Linked DNA regions of Homo sapiens: regions 2, 3, 4 and 5 are each linked to region 1. Evidence: promoter capture Hi-C in 16 types of primary human blood cells and fetal thymus (Javierre and others, 2016). All regions are on one chromosome and are shown on one strand. Each heading gives the region's core, a stretch centred on a gene start or on the middle of the fragment in contact. The rest is flanking DNA. Distances are from core to core; before and after follow the strand shown. Region 1 holds the start of SOX2 (SRY-box transcription factor 2). Region 2 has its middle 47 kb from the start of LINC02031. Region 3 overlaps LINC02031 (long intergenic non-protein coding RNA 2031). Region 4 overlaps LINC02031 (long intergenic non-protein coding RNA 2031). Region 5 has its middle 250 kb from the start of LINC01994.

The links. The method cuts DNA at HindIII sites, captures the fragments that hold promoters and counts their contacts. A CHiCAGO score of 5 or more calls a contact.
Region 2: a contact is called between a fragment that was not itself captured here and the fragment with the promoter of SOX2 in region 1, in 8 of 17 cell types (monocytes, fetal thymus, M1 macrophages and 5 more). The highest score is 15.8, in monocytes.
Region 3: a fragment that was not itself captured here is called in contact with the fragment with the promoter of SOX2 in region 1 in 8 of 17 cell types (total B cells, monocytes, M0 macrophages and 5 more); the score reaches 9.1 in total B cells.
Region 4: a fragment that was not itself captured here is called in contact with the fragment with the promoter of SOX2 in region 1 in 2 of 17 cell types (M0 macrophages and M2 macrophages); the score reaches 6.4 in M0 macrophages.
Region 5: a contact is called between a fragment that was not itself captured here and the fragment with the promoter of SOX2 in region 1, in 1 of 17 cell types (megakaryocytes). The highest score is 6.7, in megakaryocytes.

What each region holds. Positions count from the first base shown.
Region 1 is chr3:181,710,045-181,714,047 of GRCh38, forward strand. It overlaps SOX2 (SRY-box transcription factor 2), which reads left to right and starts at 1,881. Exons shown (of 1, transcript NM_003106.4): 1 at 1,881-4,003. The coding sequence starts at 2,317. The coding sequence ends at 3,270. The region is part of intron 6 of SOX2-OT (SOX2 overlapping transcript); the gene reads left to right. RefSeq lists enhancers at 310-1,163, 1,164-2,016, 2,017-2,870, 2,871-3,722, a promoter at 1,109-2,142 and a silencer at 1,722-1,781. The HindIII fragment of the contact is 18,528 bases long and covers 1-4,003 here.
Region 2 is chr3:182,688,961-182,692,963 of GRCh38, forward strand. No RefSeq gene overlaps it. Among named protein-coding and RNA genes, the nearest start is that of LINC02031, 47 kb to the left of the region's middle. The HindIII fragment of the contact is 9,217 bases long and covers 1-4,003 here.
Region 3 is chr3:182,669,086-182,673,088 of GRCh38, forward strand. LINC02031 (long intergenic non-protein coding RNA 2031) reads left to right here. Exons shown (of 5, transcript XR_427440.3): 5 at 2,996-4,003. Among named protein-coding and RNA genes, the nearest start is that of LINC02031, 27 kb to the left of the region's middle. The HindIII fragment of the contact is 5,620 bases long and covers 1-4,003 here.
Region 4 is chr3:182,644,789-182,648,791 of GRCh38, forward strand. LINC02031 (long intergenic non-protein coding RNA 2031) reads left to right here. Exons shown (of 5, transcript XR_427440.3): 3 at 30-236. Among named protein-coding and RNA genes, the nearest start is that of LINC02031, 2.7 kb to the left of the region's middle. The HindIII fragment of the contact is 2,946 bases long and covers 345-3,290 here.
Region 5 is chr3:182,234,655-182,238,657 of GRCh38, forward strand. No RefSeq gene overlaps it. Among named protein-coding and RNA genes, the nearest start is that of LINC01994, 250 kb to the right of the region's middle. The HindIII fragment of the contact is 2,664 bases long and covers 877-3,540 here.

The DNA.
Region 1 (4,003 bases), core at 631-3,130:
CCAGTGGGTATATTTAGTGTGAGTTTGACAGTAACAGGCTAGGGAGGGCAGAGATTGGAGAAATTGGGGGTCGGGGGAGTGATTATGGGAAGAAGGTTAGTAAGGAACAAAACAATGCACCGTTTTGTAAAGATAATAAATGGAACGTGGCTGGTAGATACTATTCAGTACATTTTCTTAGGGTGAGTAAGGGTAGACCAGGGGAGGAGGGGGCGGAGAGAGTGTTACAGAAGAAAGAAAATAAGTAACCCTGATGGTTTAAGCCCTTTATAAAAAAGAAATGGCATCAGGTTTTTTTTTCTTTATTCCCCCCCACCCCACCCTTTGTAGTCAAGTGCATTTTAGCCACAAAGATCCCAACAAGAGAGTGGAAGGAAACTTAGACGAGGCTTTGTTTGACTCCGTGTAGCGACAACAAGAGAAACAAAACTACCTATTTGTAACGGACGTGCTGCCATTGCCCTCCGCATTGAGCGCCTACCTATTGAAATCTTTACGTCGGGACAATGGGAGAGCGGCTAAAATTACCCTCTTGGGTCCTGGGCGGGCAAGATTCCTGAGCCCCTACCCCCGCCCCCATCTCATCCTCCTCTAACCCGGGCCTTGCTGGGCTCCCCCTTCCCCAGTCCCGGCCGCCTTCTCCCAGTGTGCGCTGCCTGCACCTGTGCCTGGAGAGCATCGACCCCGCCTCCCAGGCCTTGAGCCCCTTTGCGGCGCAGCCCCAGCCTTGCGCGGCCTGGGCTTTGCGGCCACCACAATGGAAATCTACGGGGAAAATGCCAGGGCTGGTTCTGCTGGAGTCCTGGGAACTCTGCGTGGGAGGGAGTTTGTGACTGCGGCCCAAAAGCCACCTCCATACAGTGCCGTGGGATGCCAGGAAGTTGAAATCACCCTCCCCCATCGCCTGCACTTTTGAGCGCCCTTCCGTCTGTGTCTTTCCCCAGCCCCCATTTGAAAGCCGCACGACCGAAACCCTTCTTACGGGGAGGCATGGGATGGGAATGGGGAGTGGGGGCAGACAGTAGAAGCATCCCCTTTGCTACGGTTGAATGAAGACAGTCTAGTGGGAGATGTGGCTGGGGCTAAGAGGAAGAGCTGCAGTTTCCTGGGCCAAAGAGCTGAGTTGGACAGGGAGATGGCAGCTTACCAAGGCCTGCTGGTTCTCAGCTCTAGAGTCTGCCTTATGGTCCGAGCAGGATTTATTTTTAAGAACAGAGCAAGTTACGTGGAAGCAAGGAAGGTTTTGAGGACAGAGGTTTGGGTCTCCTAACTTCTAGTCGGGACTGTGAGAAGGGCGTGAGAGAGTGTTGGCACCTGTAAGGTAAGAGAGGAGAGCGGAAGAGCGCAGTACGGGAGCGGCACCAGAGGGGCTGGAGTTGGGGGGGAGTGCTGTGGATGAGCGGGAGAACAATGACACACCAACTCCTGCACTGGCTGTTTCCAGAAATACGAGTTGGACAGCCGCCCTGAGCCACCCACTGTGCCCTGCCCCACCCCCGCACCTTAGCTGCTTCCCGCGTCCCATCCTCATTTAAGTACCCTGCACCAAAAAGTAAATCAATATTAAGTTTAAAGAAAAAAAAACCCACGTAGTCTTAGTGCTGTTTACCCACTTCCTTCGAAAAGGCGTGTGGTGTGACCTGTTGCTGCGAGAGGGGATACAAAGGTTTCTCAGTGGCTGGCAGGCTGGCTCTGGGAGCCTCCTCCCCCTCCTCGCCTGCCCCCTCCTCCCCCGGCCTCCCCCGCGCGGCCGGCGGCGCGGGAGGCCCCGCCCCCTTTCATGCAAAACCCGGCAGCGAGGCTGGGCTCGAGTGGAGGAGCCGCCGCGCGCTGATTGGTCGCTAGAAACCCATTTATTCCCTGACAGCCCCCGTCACATGGATGGTTGTCTATTAACTTGTTCAAAAAAGTATCAGGAGTTGTCAAGGCAGAGAAGAGAGTGTTTGCAAAAGGGGGAAAGTAGTTTGCTGCCTCTTTAAGACTAGGACTGAGAGAAAGAAGAGGAGAGAGAAAGAAAGGGAGAGAAGTTTGAGCCCCAGGCTTAAGCCTTTCCAAAAAATAATAATAACAATCATCGGCGGCGGCAGGATCGGCCAGAGGAGGAGGGAAGCGCTTTTTTTGATCCTGATTCCAGTTTGCCTCTCTCTTTTTTTCCCCCAAATTATTCTTCGCCTGATTTTCCTCGCGGAGCCCTGCGCTCCCGACACCCCCGCCCGCCTCCCCTCCTCCTCTCCCCCCGCCCGCGGGCCCCCCAAAGTCCCGGCCGGGCCGAGGGTCGGCGGCCGCCGGCGGGCCGGGCCCGCGCACAGCGCCCGCATGTACAACATGATGGAGACGGAGCTGAAGCCGCCGGGCCCGCAGCAAACTTCGGGGGGCGGCGGCGGCAACTCCACCGCGGCGGCGGCCGGCGGCAACCAGAAAAACAGCCCGGACCGCGTCAAGCGGCCCATGAATGCCTTCATGGTGTGGTCCCGCGGGCAGCGGCGCAAGATGGCCCAGGAGAACCCCAAGATGCACAACTCGGAGATCAGCAAGCGCCTGGGCGCCGAGTGGAAACTTTTGTCGGAGACGGAGAAGCGGCCGTTCATCGACGAGGCTAAGCGGCTGCGAGCGCTGCACATGAAGGAGCACCCGGATTATAAATACCGGCCCCGGCGGAAAACCAAGACGCTCATGAAGAAGGATAAGTACACGCTGCCCGGCGGGCTGCTGGCCCCCGGCGGCAATAGCATGGCGAGCGGGGTCGGGGTGGGCGCCGGCCTGGGCGCGGGCGTGAACCAGCGCATGGACAGTTACGCGCACATGAACGGCTGGAGCAACGGCAGCTACAGCATGATGCAGGACCAGCTGGGCTACCCGCAGCACCCGGGCCTCAATGCGCACGGCGCAGCGCAGATGCAGCCCATGCACCGCTACGACGTGAGCGCCCTGCAGTACAACTCCATGACCAGCTCGCAGACCTACATGAACGGCTCGCCCACCTACAGCATGTCCTACTCGCAGCAGGGCACCCCTGGCATGGCTCTTGGCTCCATGGGTTCGGTGGTCAAGTCCGAGGCCAGCTCCAGCCCCCCTGTGGTTACCTCTTCCTCCCACTCCAGGGCGCCCTGCCAGGCCGGGGACCTCCGGGACATGATCAGCATGTATCTCCCCGGCGCCGAGGTGCCGGAACCCGCCGCCCCCAGCAGACTTCACATGTCCCAGCACTACCAGAGCGGCCCGGTGCCCGGCACGGCCATTAACGGCACACTGCCCCTCTCACACATGTGAGGGCCGGACAGCGAACTGGAGGGGGGAGAAATTTTCAAAGAAAAACGAGGGAAATGGGAGGGGTGCAAAAGAGGAGAGTAAGAAACAGCATGGAGAAAACCCGGTACGCTCAAAAAGAAAAAGGAAAAAAAAAAATCCCATCACCCACAGCAAATGACAGCTGCAAAAGAGAACACCAATCCCATCCACACTCACGCAAAAACCGCGATGCCGACAAGAAAACTTTTATGAGAGAGATCCTGGACTTCTTTTTGGGGGACTATTTTTGTACAGAGAAAACCTGGGGAGGGTGGGGAGGGCGGGGGAATGGACCTTGTATAGATCTGGAGGAAAGAAAGCTACGAAAAACTTTTTAAAAGTTCTAGTGGTACGGTAGGAGCTTTGCAGGAAGTTTGCAAAAGTCTTTACCAATAATATTTAGAGCTAGTCTCCAAGCGACGAAAAAAATGTTTTAATATTTGCAAGCAACTTTTGTACAGTATTTATCGAGATAAACATGGCAATCAAAATGTCCATTGTTTATAAGCTGAGAATTTGCCAATATTTTTCAAGGAGAGGCTTCTTGCTGAATTTTGATTCTGCAGCTGAAATTTAGGACAGTTGCAAACGTGAAAAGAAGAAAATTATTCAAATTTGGACATTTTAATTGTTTAAAAATTGTACAAAAGGAAAAAATTAGAATAAGTACTGGCGAACCATCTCTGTGGTCTTGTTTAAAAAGGGCAAAAGTTTT
Region 2 (4,003 bases), core at 404-2,903, 980 kb after region 1:
TGGGAAGGTTAAAAATACGAAGACGAAATACTAGACAAATATCAAAATAATGCAGAGGCCACTACATTAATATTAGATAAAACACACAAAAAACACAAAAATTAGCCAGGTGTAGTGACGAATACCTGTAGTCCCAGCTACTCGGGAGCCTGAGGTGGGAGGATCACTTGATCCTGGGAGGCAGAGACTGCAGCAAGCCGAGATAGCGCCAGTCCACTCCAGCCTGGGTGACACAGTGAGATCCTGTCTCAAAAAGAATGTAAGACAAAGAGCATTACTGGAAATAGAGAAATGTACTATATACTGATTATAGTTTTCAATTCACTATGTGATTATAGACATTTTAAACCCATATATATATAAGAAAATTGCCTCAAAATCATTATAGGATATTTTAACACACCTCTAGTAATTATTGACAGCTTAGAAGATAGGAAATTAATATAGATAAACAATATTTAAACAATATACATAAAAAGGGATTGGTATTAATATAATTAACATATTTAGAATTGTGCCCCTAAACAACTAGAGAATACACATTCTTCTCAACACAGAAGCAATGTTTTCAAAAATCAACCACTTAAACGCAGCCACACAGCAAGTCTGAACACATCTCAAAGGATAAGTATCATAAATACCATATTCTCTGGCAACAATACCATCTAAAAGGAAAAAAATAATAACACAGATTTGATGGACGACTTCAAGCCACACATTCGAGAAGTTTTAATCAGAATAACTACAAAGAAAACTATAACCTAGCACATCAGCATAAAACAGCTGAAAACCAAAAACAAGAAGCAAATTTTTAAAGCAGTCAAAAGAGATACTATCTTCAAAGAAGCAACAGTAAAATAAGCAGCCATCTTCTCAACAGAAACCATGAATGTCAGAAGACATGTGCTAAAAGAAAATAACAATAATGTAGCGTTTCATATTCACCAAGAATACCCTTCCAAGGTAAAAGCAAAAGAAAGATAGTTTCAGACCTACAAAGTATGGGTGAATTTGTCACTAACAGGCCTGCATTACGGGAAATGCTAAAGGGCATTCTTCAGGCAGAAGTAAATGGTCGGTAGTCCCAGATGGAAGCTCAAAGGTGCAAGAAGAAATGAAAACCAAAAGAGAAAATAATATAGAAGTAAATATAAATGAATATTTACAATATAAAACAATAAGAATATTGCTTTGTGGGGATAGAGATATAGATATGACAGTAATAGCACAGAAGTCAACAGAACAAGTAGAATGAAAATGTTTTTCAGTGTTTGTGATTAACACAGCCGTTCTCAAAGTGTAGTCTCCAGGTCTGCGTTTGCATCACCAGTGTCACTTAGGAAATTGTTGGAAATGCAAATTCTCATGCCTCAACCCATGCCTGCTGAATCAGAAACCCTGATGACAGAACCCAGCAATCTGTGCTTTAACAAACCCTTAAGGCAATTCTGATGCATGTTCAAGTTTGAGAACCACTGGCCTGGGAAATAACAAAAGTGACAATTTACATGGATGTTTAATAAATTGAGTAACATGTTGTTATCTCTATGGCAACCACTAAAAAGTCATAAAATAATATATAATTACTTAACCAAGGAAGAGGGGACTACAATAATAAAAAATACTTAATCAACATAAAAGGCAAGAACTTTGAAAAATGAGCAGAGGCAATTCAGTGGAGAAAGGACAGTCTTTTCAACAAATGGTGCTGGAACAACTGGGGATATGAAAAAAAAAAAAATCCTAGACACAGATCTTACACCTTTCACAAAATTTGACTCTAAGCAGATCATAAACCTAAACATTAAAACACTAAACTGTAAAACTTCTAGAAGATAACATAGGATAAAATAGAGGTGACTTTGGGTTTAGTGGTGTGTTTTTAGATACAACACTAAAAGCACAATCCATGAAAAAAATTAGCAAGTCAGACTTTATTAAAATTAAAAACTCTTCAAAACACACTTTGCCATTGATGGCATCTGTAAGACTCAAGGCAAAAGGAAATACAGAAGTACTCTAGTTGATAAAGTTTTTCCCCATAGAGGTATGGATTAAGAATTCTAGTACTGCCTGATACTGCTATACATGTATACAGGAATTGAACAATTAAGTAAATGGATAGCAGATGATAGGAGGCAGTTTTCTCACTGTTGAAGTAGGAATTTATAGATAAGGAAAAGGAGGGGGGTAGAATGATGTATGTGGTAATGGATTCAAACTAGAAACATCAGTAAAAACTTCTTTAATAATTAACAATATGGAAACAGATGGTTACACATAGAAATATTTATAAATATGTGTATATATACAAGGTAGTATACATACATATATTTCATTGCTCTGTCAGGTGAGAAGCCTGCAAAAAAAAACTACATCTCAATAGCAATGAACACACCTAGCACCCAGATCTTGGTTCCCAACATCATTCTCCAGAATAAAGGAACCAGGGCTCCTTGCAGAAATGAGTGACTATGACTGGGGCAGGAAATACACAAGATTAGCCTGGGGTGTCTTATAGTGCTACAAGTAAGAAACTGCATTCTCTCTCCCTTACTCTGTCTCTCTTCTTCTCTCTCTCTCTCTCCCTCTCTCACACACACACACACACACACACACACACACACACACAAATTAATGAGAGTATCTCAAAGGGGCTCAGGACCAAAAAGCTCCCAATGGCCAAAGCTAGAAGGATTTAAGCAATGAAATAAATAGTTTGGGATTAGAGCCCAGAGTATAAAACGCATATCCATGAGCTCAGATCTGATATAAATATATGATTAAGTAAGTTAATAAACACAGGAAAAGAAACAAATATTCAGTACAAAAAAAGAATTCCAAATAAATTATACCGATATGGTGACTAGCTCGGCCAGGCTTGGTGACTACACTGGCCCGGCTACACCGTTCCACACCTCCCACTGTCGGACTGGGCTGCTACCTCTGTGCCTGCCAGTCATGTTATTAATACTACTGCCACTGCTGTCACTGCTGCTGCTGCTGCTGGGATCTGGCCCTGGGTCCCGCCAGGCCTCCAAGAGGTCACACGTGCACCGACGTGGGATCCTGGAACTGGCAGGAACTGTGGGTTGTATTGACTCCTGAACCCCACTTACCTATATGAAATACAGTTGCTACTGTGGCCTGGGAGGCCATGGCCAGCACCGGGATGCCATTGACTGGACCAGCAGAGAACAAATGCCAAAAGCTCTTGTGCAAGTGTGACCAGGAGATTGCTAACTGCTTAGCCCGAACTGAGTACAACTGAAAGTACCTCTTCTACCCCCAGTTTCTGTGAAAGCAGGACTCGCCCAAGTGCGACTGGCTAGCTTGACTTGAAGTGCTCCTTTGCACAAAGAAATAAAGCTCCTTCTCGCTAATGAAAAAGTATTATATTGATACTTCACCCTAATGGAGGGGGAGCAAAACTTGCCACTCCTTAAGGGCTATGTATAAGGAACTTCCATCCAAGGAGTACAGTTAGAAGAGGGAAATTTAAGTGAGTATTTTTAAGATAGGGACACTCAAGAAACAGTAACCCAACCAAGTGATCAAGGTCAATATCAACCATCATAAATCACATTGATAATCTTGATATTATGTGTGATGAAAATGGCACTTCTCTTCTATAATAAACCCATAACCCCAGTCTAATTGTGAGAAAAACATCTGTGAACCTAAATAACAGAGAGGGAGACTCTCTAAAAGAAAATGATGTTTATTTGGGAATAAGCATTGCCATGGCAATAAGCAGCCCATAGTAAACCATATGAGTATTCAGGGAAGTAACAGAAGAAAAAGGCTTTTAGAGGAAAAATGAGGATTATACAATTGTTATGACACTATTATCCTTGGCTACAGGATCAGTAAGAAGAGTGGCACTAGTCTGAGGTTGAACAGGAAGTTGCTGGGCAGATGTCCTCACAGGGGTACTTCTTTGTGTATAGTTGCAATGGCCTTTGTGCAAGGTTGTGGTTTCTGCAGTCTTCTGTGATAGTTC
Region 3 (4,003 bases), core at 1,016-3,515, 960 kb after region 1:
GACTATTAGGGAATAGGGCAATTTGCCCTTGTACCAAATGTCTGCTACAGAATCCTAGTATGTCTTACATAAGTATTACCAGTTAGACTCATGTATCTAATTCCTCTCCTCTCCTCCCTCCTACTCTAAAATGAACAGATGAGCTCATTTTAGCAAGTACAGTATCATGTCTATGCATTTCCAGCTGCATCTGTCTGTTGATAAAAGGAACTTAGTACTGAAACACAACTGGACTAACTGTAATTGAAACTGTAATGAAAAATGAGCAATTTAAATAATGGGTCAGATAACAAAAATCTGTTTTACTTCAAGAATCCTTACATAAGATTTATATATTGCAAATTTCCTGTTAAATTCTTGCTTGATTGATAGACAATATATTATATGCAATCAGACACATACATATACTACAATTATTGCTACTGAAAGTCTATTCAGATTCATTTGTTGTAAGATTAGACTTACAGTTTTCCAAGTTTGCCTTATGAAAGGAATTGAAAGAGGCCTTTGGAAATATTCAATATAATAGTTTGAAATATTCAGATTCCAAGACTTTCCCCTGGAAATTCTGACTCTGTTGATGTGGGTTGGAATCTGAGAATCTATTCTTTTTTAACAAGCATTCTAGATGATTCCAAGGTTTTCTCACAAATCTAAATGGGGTTTGTGGGCAAACTACTCTCTCAGTTCCTGCATATCAATGTATTTTTTTTTAATTCTTCATGACAAAAGAATATCTTAGCTGGGTATAGGACCCTTTCCCTTCTTTCAAAAAATGATGAGAGCTTACTAAGGGTCTGTTCTCAGTGACAGCAGTGAACAAACAAGTCCTCCATTCTTACAGTGCCCATATTCTAGTGGGAAAAAGAGATACAATAAACAAACACAGGTAAGCAGATAAGTGCTATAACTTATAGGAAATAAAGTGAATAAGGCAGATAGAGAATGACCCAGAAGAGAGTTGCCATTTTATTAAAATGTAGGGGGTTAGAGAAGGCCTCCTTGATAAGATAATACCTGAACAAAGACCTGAGGAAGGGAGGGAGCCATGTGGAGTTGGGCAAAGTGTGTTCTAGGCCAGATGCAAGGCAGGTGTTGTGACTGGCGGGTGTGAGCAAGGGGAGAAGGATCAGAGACTGTTCAAAAGGAAAGGAGATGCCAGGTGCGGTGGCTTATACCTGTAATCCCAGCACTTTGGGAGGCTGAGGCAGGTGGATCACAAGGTCTAGACATCGAGACTGTCCTGCCCAACATGGTAAAACCTCATCTCTACTAAAAATACAAAAATTAGCTGGGCGTGGTGGCGTGCGCCTGTAGTCCCAGCTACTCAGAAGGCTGAGGCAGGAGAATCACTTGAGTCCAGGAGGCGGAGGTTGTAGTGAGCCGAGATTGTGCCATTGCATTCCAGCCTGGGTGACAAGAGCGAAACTGTCTCAAAAAAAAGAAAGAAAGAAAGAAAGAGGAAGGAAAAAGGAAGGAAGGAAGGTAGGAAGGAAGGAAGGAGGGAGGGAAGGAGGGAGGGAGGGAAAGAAGGAAGGAAGGAAGGAAGGAAGGAAGGAAGGAAGGAAGGAAGGAAGGAAGGAAGGAAGGAAGGAAGGAAGGAAAGGACAGAGAGAGAGAGAAAAGGAGAGATGGGAACCTCTAAGGGGTCTTGAGCACGGAAGTGTTGTGATGGGACCATTGTGATCTGAATGTCCAGGTGAGAGATCACGGTGGCTTGAATCCACTATTTGGAGCAAAGTTTCACTGGTTTCTTGCCTTTTTCTCTCAGATAAATTAGATTACGATGATTTCATCTCAGTTTTCTGTAGAGGCTATATGTCATTGCCTTCCGGCTTCCATGTTTCAAATGAAAAGAAGAACGACACGCTACCTCTTTTCACTTTTTTAAGTAACTTGTCCTTTCTGTTTGGAGACTTATAAGACTTTCCTGTTTATCCTTGAACTAATATTTACAATGAAGCAGACAAAGTCTGTAGGATAGAGTTAAGTTGTCAGATCAAGGTCAGAAAAACACAAAATTGGCGATAAGAAAACAATTGGAAGCCCTGAACCTGAGCACATAGACCAAAATGGGCTAAGGGCAAAAATTCAGATTTTGAAGGAAGTTCCTGGGGCCTTTACGTGGCTGTAGGGCAGCTGCCCTTCCCCAGTCAGCCTCAGCTCAAGCCAGTTAACCTTAGATCCCAGCCCCCAAGCTGCACTAACATCCTACATCTTATGCCTTTACTATCACTTTCCTTTGCAAAAAAAAAAACAAAAAAACACGTGGTCAGAGTTATACTTGGGACCATTTCACTGGCCACATATGTTGACAAATTTAAATTCTGTACGTCTACTTTCATCTCTATTCATAAGCATCTGTTCTAGATACTTACTTAGTACTTAGATAGATCTAAGTATCTATTCACTATATCTGTGGCCCTGAAAGAACTTGGATATATTTATTCAAATGTATAAGTAGAAATTCTGCTTTATTTAGATGCATTTCTTGATTTTTTATTTCATATTTGGCTAAAAGCTGAGTTCATTCATGTCTATAAAAAGTCGATCTCATTTTGGATGTAAGCAGGGAAGAGCCTTGAAGAAAGTATTTATGCCTTGTGCTATTTGGTGGGGGGAGGGGTAGAAGGAGCAGGGAAGCCTGGCTGAATAAAGGGTAAGTGAGAGAAATGAGACAAGGCTCCTCCATCTCCTGTGGAGGGTGAGTTAGAGCACAGACTCAGGAAACTATGTCAAGAAATGAGCGAGTGTCTAATGGGAGATTGCTGTAGGAAAGCAAATGACTGTAATATCTGATAATGATCCACAGAAAGATAAAAGTGTGATAAGGACAAATCACTTCTTATTCTATTCTTTATGTCCTTCCCTCCTCTGCCTCCTCAGCTAGTAGAATCTGCCTTGCTCCCACTCCCTCCCTGTCGCCCACAATCTCTGCATTTTTTTCTCTCATCCATTCTATGAATATCTTCATCTGCTATTTCTGTGGTTTCAGATGAAGAAATACTTCAGTGCATGCCGTGTGCAGCCTAGAAGTTACATATGCAATTGTAGATGAAGCTAACTGACCAGGCGACACCAGGAGGAGCACGAGGACCAAGAGAACTAAGTGGGCAAGATGCCCAGGCAGTGGACAGAAAACAGAGAACAACAACATCCAAAGAGCCACCTGGAGAACAGATGGGGACCGGGGACCAGAATGCTCTTCCTAAATCAAATAGAAAACAGGAAGGCTGTCCAAAGATTTGGGGGGCCAGGAGAGTGAGCAATACAGAAGGGATTGTGACCACCAAGCTCCCTTTCTAGAGAATGTGTCCAAAGCAGGTCCAGGCAGACTGGGGGTGGGAGAGGAGAATTCACATTAAATATTTATAATGTGCACAATGAGTTCTAGTGGGAAATCTCAGAAGATGCCACCATTTCCAACTTTAAAATACCCTTCTTCTTCAATGTCTGTGTGTGTTTTTAGGAATCCAAATACAATAAAATATTCATCATGGAGAGTTTTTGATGGTAAAAGAGTATCCCAGGGAATATCTTCTGATGTTGTATCGTCACCCTTTGTGGAATTTTCTCCCTCTCACTTCATTCTTTATTGGGTTGGAATTGGGATAAAAGAGTAGAGTGGGTCATAAGGTCCTGTTCCAAGTAATTAGAGAGTTTTTTCTTTTATCTAAATGTGCCTTGTTAAAGTATATCAGTGTCAGCCAGGTTAATTGGAACTTTAATACATAATTGATGCTAATTTATGGCTCTTTTTGTTCCAGGATGCTACTGCAGACCTTAAAGTCAGGATACAGTTTTCTTGTTATTAATTATATACAGAAAGCCAATATCCCCTATGAGAAGAGACTCATGTCATCTGTAGCTTATTAAAGATACAGTATGTCAGCCATAGGTCACTTTTACTGCTTATGCCCCCAGTAAACTCCACATTACTCCATAATAACATAATACACTAATCACAGTAAATAAAAATTAGAATTTTAAGTTAAAGCTCATA
Region 4 (4,003 bases), core at 568-3,067, 930 kb after region 1:
CTCCTCTCCCTGGCTCTAACTTCCTTAAGGGCAAGAACCGGCTTGTTCACCATTGTATTCCTGCACCACAGCATAAGCACTCAATCATTATGGGTTAAAGGCTGAAATTCAAAAAGAGAAAGGGAGATGTTAGACACCTACTGACCAAGGAGGTGCCCTCCATTCTGCTTAACCACCGCCCAGGCCAGTCATTTCTCTCCCTGGAAGACTTTGAGTCATGCACGCGCAAGGAAAATGTGAGTAGATGAGTTGGATTATGAGCTGTAGTGGACAAAACAGAGGCTTTGATGTTAGAACAGCTCTGGTTTTGATTCCTGGCTCCACCAATGCATGCTCTCTATATAAGCTTGGATAATTTTTTGTAACTTCTCTTAACTTTCTCATTTACCAAATGATGATAAGAAGGTACAACAGAACTAATATAAAGGTATGTGAAACAGTCACGTGATTGTTGGTGTTATGAGTGTTAGCTCATGCATTGCTCTGCTAGTCTGTTTTCCACTCCTGCACTCTTCTTCCCAACTCTTCAAAAGCTCCTATACCCCAACCTCTACTGCAGCCTCCAATTCTCACTGCTTTATACAGTGAGAAACAAAATAATTCTTGGTTTTCTCTTGTTTCCAAAGGCCCAGTTTTGGGGTTGTTTTTTTTTTTTTTTTTTTTTTTTTTTGAGTCGGAGTCTCACTCTATTGCCCAGGCTCTGGAGTGCAGTGGCGCGATCTCGGCTTTCTGCAAGCCCTGCCTCCCGGGTTCACACCATTCTCCTGCCTCAGCCTCCCGAGTAGCTGGGACTATAGGTGCCTGCCGCCACGCCCAGCTATTTTTTTTTTTTTTTTTTTTTGTATTTTTAGTAGAGACAGGGTTTCACCGTGTTAGCCAGGATGGTCTCAATCTCCTGACCTCATGATCCACCCACCTCAGCCTCCCAAAGTGCTGGGATTACAGGCATGAGCCACCGCACCCGGCCCAAAGGCCCAGTTTTTAATAAACCATAGATTTGGAAAAACTAAGTGATTCCTTCTTTCTGCAGAGGATTTCCCACCTCTGCCTCCAAGCTCTTTAGGAACAAGAACCTTCTACAAGCTGAGAGAGTGAAACCAATAAGTTACATGCTGGTTTGGAAGCCCAGCTCCTGCCCTTTGGGGCCAACTCCCATTAAGAAGAGCTGGTGCGGGAGGAGGGAGATAGAACATCTGTGTAAGTTCCAGACTCCCTAAAGAAAGAGGACTTGAATCTCACTTGTTCTGAGAGGGTCTGCTGGTAGACTTGTAGAGTGTCAAGCCAGAATAAGGGGGTGCTGCAGGAAGGATACATACTGCATGCATCATCCCTTGGGATAGCTAAAAAGAATGCAATTATTTCTTAGGAGATTGCTGCTGTGGAGGACATGCCCAAAGACCAAACCGACCAGCTACATCTCATGGGAGATAGAATGAGATCTCAACCAGTCAAAATTGAGAAGGGCACGCCGTGCTCTCCTCCAAATCCAAAGTGGCATATTCACAAATCTCTGCAGTTTTCAAGATCAGTATCAGGAAGGAGAAAAGGAAGAAGAGGGAAAGCCCACAGTTACATAGGTGTAAATATGAAATGACTAATGTGATCGTCAAAGGAACAGAGTTGACATAGATATAATGGGACTAAATTTTTTATATCATAAAAAAGTTGGTTTATGATAAAATTTAAGTTCACTTACAGAAAAACAGGGAGAGCTACATTCTTGCTTTTTTGTGGGCTTTGAAATTCACAGGAAATATAAATATACTTACAAAAATATAAATATACTTACAAAAATATAAATACACTCACAACAAACATAAAACATCTAAAAAGGGGCCTCGTCCATAGGAGGTTCTGAAGAAATTGGCTTCCCTAAGCTGGATTATCTAAATTTTTATGCTAATACTTATCTCTAAAATCAGAGACATTTGTAACTTGGCTCCAGTAATGAGTAAGGCTTACTTTGAAAATGCAAACAAATCAATCAACAATCTTTATAACATCCAACAACAATAGAAGAAGAGCACTGTCCTTCCAGAAAGTGACACTGTGATTAGTAAAACAAGATAATGTCCATCATTACTAATGGCCATTGCCCTCATGGTAGTGAAGGTGGAACAGCAATATAAAACCCATAGGCTCTATCTCCCAAGCATACGCAAATCTCAGCCACTTCTCATCATTTCCATGACTGTCACCCCAATCCAAGCCACCATGTCTCACCTGGACATTGCCCAGTCTCCCTGCTTCTGCTCTTATCCCTATAGTCTGCTCTCAACATAGAGTGGCCCTTCCCTTTTAAGAGCATAAATAGGATTATGTTACTCTTCCCCTTAAAACACTCCGAAGTAGCTTAAGTCTCACCATCCTTTCCTTAAGAGTGAGCTTGATTCCAAAGAATAGAGTAGGAAAAGGTGAAAATAGTAACTTCATGGTGGAGAAATCTGGAAAACCTACCTCAACCAAGTGATGAAAGTTAACCTCACTAGAGACATCATATGGATGCAGGTACCTGTTGATATGATGTGATAAGAAGGGCACTCACTTCTGTATTCTTTCTGATGACTCATTGCCCTAGTCCAATCATAAGAAAAACAAAAGACAAACCCAGATTGGGAAGATTCTATGGGGTACCTGACTGCTATTCCTCAAGACAGTCAAGGTCATGAAAACAAGAAGACTGCCAAAGACCAGAGAAGACTGAGGAGGCATGGCAACTAAGTGCAATGTGGTACCATATATTGAATCCTGGAACAGAAAGAGGACACTGATGGAAAAACTAGCAAATCCAAATAAAACCTGACGTTTATTAACAGTAATAAGCCAATGTCAATATTCTAGTTTTAACAAATGAACCGCGGTAATGTATGATCTTAATAACAGGGGAAACTATATAAGGGATATACAGCAACTTTCCGGACTATCTTTATAACTTTTCTGTAAATCTAAATTGTTCCAAAATAAAAAGTTTCATTTTTAAAATTCATGCAGAAATGTAATTCTCTTTATATTTATGTAATCAACTTTAGCTTTTGATAGCCCATTTTCATAAACAACAAAAAACTTTCAGTGTTATCATTTCAGTACAAAATAACTTCCAGAATAAGATTTATTCATATTTAGTTTTTTTAAAAAAAAAAAAAAAAGATCCCAAAAGACTCCACACATCTCTGACAATCTCAGTTCCAAAGTTCTTACCAAAGTCTAGAATGTCCCAGGTGAACTGATGGGCCTGGCCACTCTTCCCTCTCCAGCATCCTTGCCTCTTCCTCACCTTGCTGTTCTTGAAAAGCTTCAAGCACATTCTTAGTTCAGGGCCTTTGCGTTTGCTATTCCCAGAAACCTACATGGTCCCATTTTTCTCAAACCTCTACTCAAATATCAATTTTTCTTTTTTAAGAACAAAACAGGTATACTTCTATTAGACCACCTGACACAGAAGTTAGTGTGGTATGGATGGACAGTATGAATGACAAATAATACAAATATATTTTATTTGAAATAAAAATGTGTACGCAGCTCAGTGGGTCACTTGGAAACAAACTCTTGCTTTGCTGTATTCAAAGAGGTTTTCCATGACTACACTTCAATAACACTCTGACCCTCATCCCCATCACTGCCCAGCCCTTTACCTTGCTTTATTTTTCTTCATACTTCAAATTACGTGACATTATATTATAGACTCATTTGGGTTTGCTTTTTTGGATTTTTTGTGGGTTTTGTTGTTGTTGTTGTTGCTTTTCTCCATGAGGAGAGGGATTTTGTCTGTTTTGCAGTCAAATGGTCTACCCCTGAGCTACACCCCCAAGATTTTTTCTGTTTTGATCACTGCTATAACCTCAGTACTTAGCAGTTCCTGGCACATGGTAAGAGTTTAATCTGTTAAATGAATGAATAAAAATAAAATCAGAGCAGTTCTTGCTGCAAACCATGTCTCTTCAGGTGGCTTTGGTTCATTTCAACTGGAAAACTGAGATTGCCTTCTGGGCCCAAAAGATACCTG
Region 5 (4,003 bases), core at 959-3,458, 520 kb after region 1:
GGAACAACATTAATTTGGAAAGTGATGTGTAAATGCCACATGTTTACTTATAAAATCTCTGTTCATTTGTATTCTATTCAGTGCAGGTTACATGGTTTGGATCTTTTTGTTAGTGACATCTTGACTCTGGGTTGAGATTATTTGAGAGATAACTTACCAGCCTATAGCAGGTATTATTGGGTTTACTTTGTCCTTATCAGACTTAGGAGAAATAAAATAAACTTCCTTCTATAGTTACTGGTGCAAAGATTGATCTATAGTCACTAATCATCTTCATGTGATGAATTCTTAGGGCAAAAACAGAAACGTTTACTCACAGTTTGCTTGATACCAGAGCTGAAGTAACTTGATTATTCTTTTCTGGTTTAAAACATGTTTTAAATGACCAAATGAAAGAAAAAAGCAATTAGTAGTACTTTTTTTTTGCATTACACAATACTAGATGAGTAATACGTTAAGACTTTTGTACAAATATGTCTAGAAGGACACTCATTTGTAATAATTAGTTAATAGAACATTCAGCAACAAAATGTTCTGTTGGGAGACACACTTTAATTTTTTCCAAATCTCATGTTCATAATTGTCCCCCACTGTTACCAAATAAATTATATTGTTAGAGCAATACACTAAAAAACACAACACATCTTTGTTACGGAAAACATTTAACAGTCAAGTTGAATTTCATAAAATATTTTATGACTAAAGTTGAGGGAAAAGGCACAAAGAAACAACACAAATGAAATTTAAATTTAATGAATATTCTGTTGTTGCCTGCCAGAGGGAATAAATATTTTCATATTCATTTTCTCTTTTAAGTATACCTGGTAACTGTGTAACTTTCCCCTCCTCACTTCTATTTGGTTCTCTTATTCATTAAGCTTTACTTAGGTAGAGGACCACACAAACATACCAGCATTTTGCTAAGTTGCACACAGCCACGTTAGAGGGAAATAGTAATTGATCTGTAGCTCCTAGATATCTGGCTGTTGATCTCAGTCATACACAGAGATTCTCAGTCATACCCAGGAAACAAAAGGTCCAGAACAGTAGGGCTTTCTTTTGAAAGTAGCTGTATGCTGGCTATTAAATGTTGAGGCTGGTTCTATGCAAGGAAATAGTTGTATTTGCTCCTCCAAGGAAACCCCTTGTATTTGTCGCATTCCTACACTGAGAAAAGCATTCTGGTGCTTTCTGAGATAATCATATGCTTCTCAGGGTTTTGTTATGATTTTTCTATTAAGGCCAACTACGCGTAATATTGGTGGGCATGGCTTAGATCTGATCAAAGTTGTGGTAATACACAATAATGTCTAAACCCTTTTTGATACCCTGCTGTAAAAATGGGGATGAGAAATACCATTTACTGAAGACCTGCTCTGTGACAGGCACTGCATATATTGCAGATACTGCAAATATATTACATAAACTATCACACCACAACAACCTCATGAGCTAGATACCATTATTTTCCTTCCCATTATGCAGATAAAGAAACTGAGACTCAGATGTATTAACTTTCCAAAATTGTTTGAATTGAGACCTTACACAACTCTGATTAACTTGCCAACCGATACCTAAAAATAAAAGCCTCAGTTGGGTGGAAAAGCTCTGAAAAGCATTTTCGTTCAAGACAGTTCAACAAACTACTGTAACTGGAAAATTTTTCAGTTTGAATAAGTCACTTGTTTAAAACATGGGATGATTCCTGACCTTGCTTAAAGTGCTGATAGAGTGGCCAGCCTGTGTTTTCGGCTGCTGCACCAGGTAAATGGAAGTCCACTCACCACTCACTGTGTGTGACAGTCTATTTTTTTCCCACCGTGGAGTTTTTATGTTGATGCTTCTCTAAAACTCTTTTTTCAGAGTGTGAGCAGGATAAAAATATAAAAATACAAGGATACAATAGTGTTTTAAGAAACACCCTATTTGTTGTTCAATGTTCAAAGTTTTTTCATGGCCAGCAAATACAGCATGTTTTGTTAAGTCTTCCAGAAACATCCAAGTCCTGGATTACTTGTATATGAAGATTGGTTATATACAAGCATATACTTATTTGATTCACCAATAAGACCAAATAATTTGATTCCCACATAGACAAAATTCTCCTAAAATGCAATTCAGGATAATCATTCCTTCTCAGACTTTATTTTTTCCCTCCTGTTAAAACCAAAATGCAAACAGGACTGGGGGAAAATTCTCTAGTCCAAATAGACACGCAACATGCAAACTGCTGTTGCAGTTTTGCAGACTGCTGTTAAAAATGGCACCATACATAGGTATACTTAAAGTAAAATTTAAAAAAGTTCATGGAAAACAAAACTAGAACAAACATTTTCATAGCACACTAAAAATAAATAAATAAATATATATATAAATAAATAAAAGGCACCATTAAAAAATCACAGCTCCTAGAGGCAGATAAAACCTCAGACTGGGTTTAGTCAAGCAGGATACCGAGAAAATTTTTTCAAGGTTTTGGTAATTTTACTTCCTTTTTGTCTGCCTACAAGACTTCCTTCTACCTCAATGAGTGTTTATTATTATTACTATTATCATTTAACATAACTGACACAATTAGTCTTTTGAAAGAACAATAATGAGATGGACAAGTGGGTCTCTGGCTTTTGGAGAGGGTTATTAATAAGTCATTTGACACTAATAGACTGGAAAAATAATTTGTGGCCCATGTAAGTGATAAAATATCCTTAATTTGAAGACATTGCTTATAGCAAATGTTTAGGAGTTGAGAACCCACAGGACTGTTCAATAATGATATTGAGTCTAAATGCAATTGTAATAAGTAATCTGTTGTTATAATGATACCAGTTCCCATTTATTGAGGGCTTACTATGCACAAAGCACTGTTCTAAGCACTGGCATGCATTATCTCATTATACTTCACAACAGTCTCTATGAGAGAGTACTATTATTGACCCCACTCTACAGATGGTGAAAACAAGGCTTAGAGAGATCATCACTTGCTCAGTGCTACAGAGTCAGTTGTTAAGCTGAGATTTAAACCCAGATCTCTTTTACCCCAAAACCTGTTGGACTAATCTACAACACAACTTTGCCTTCTGTACTCTGAATCCTAAAATAGTCAAGCTGAAAGCAACCTCTGAGACTGCAGTCCAGCCTCTTTCTTGTACATATGAGAAAATTGAAGTTTTAAAAAGGAACTATGTCTTTCTCATCACCCTAATAACAAATTGGTGACTGAGCAGGCCTAGAACTCAGGTCTCTTGCCTTCAATTCCAGATAGAATGCCATTCTATCATTTAACAAAATTTGCATGACCCAGGAGACTAGAAGACTAGCTCTGCAGTTTAACACACACACACACACACACACACACACACACACACACACACACACACCAGATAAAATACCAAAGAGCTAAATTCAGGTTGCTTCTGTGTTTTCTAACTTGCAGCTGCTTCATTGCAGGATCATACAACACATGATGCGACAGGGACTTAAAGCCACACATAAAACATATTAAATGTAGTCAGCAGTGATGAGATTTGGTACCAAATAAGAAGCTTTAATTAATTTTAAATGGTGCTTTTCATAGTGTCAAAAGCTCAGTCCACTGAAGTGGAAAAGGGGGTTGGAATGGCCAGATCCTAGCAACCCAGCTAATCTGGGCCCTTCTGAGCAAGCTCATTTGGAATTCTTACATCAGTGCATCGGCACGCCGAGGTGGGGCTCATGGGGACAAACAAAATAGCAACCCCAACTCCGGCACTGCTCAGAATCCCGCATCCCGGGGAGGCCTGAGAGTTCAGCTGTATTAAGGGGCCGTTGGAGTTTCCCTGTTATTTGTCTACTTTTTGAGGATTAGAACTTCCGCTGGGCTGTGTTCATCTGTGCTGAGAATTTAAACTCGGTGCATGCAACAACAGGAACAGCGAGATCTGCTAGAAACGTTCAAAAAGAAGTCTGTTGTGACTTTTAAAAGCTGTTAGATGCACAAAGAGCAATAAATTGAAGGGTTTCTGAT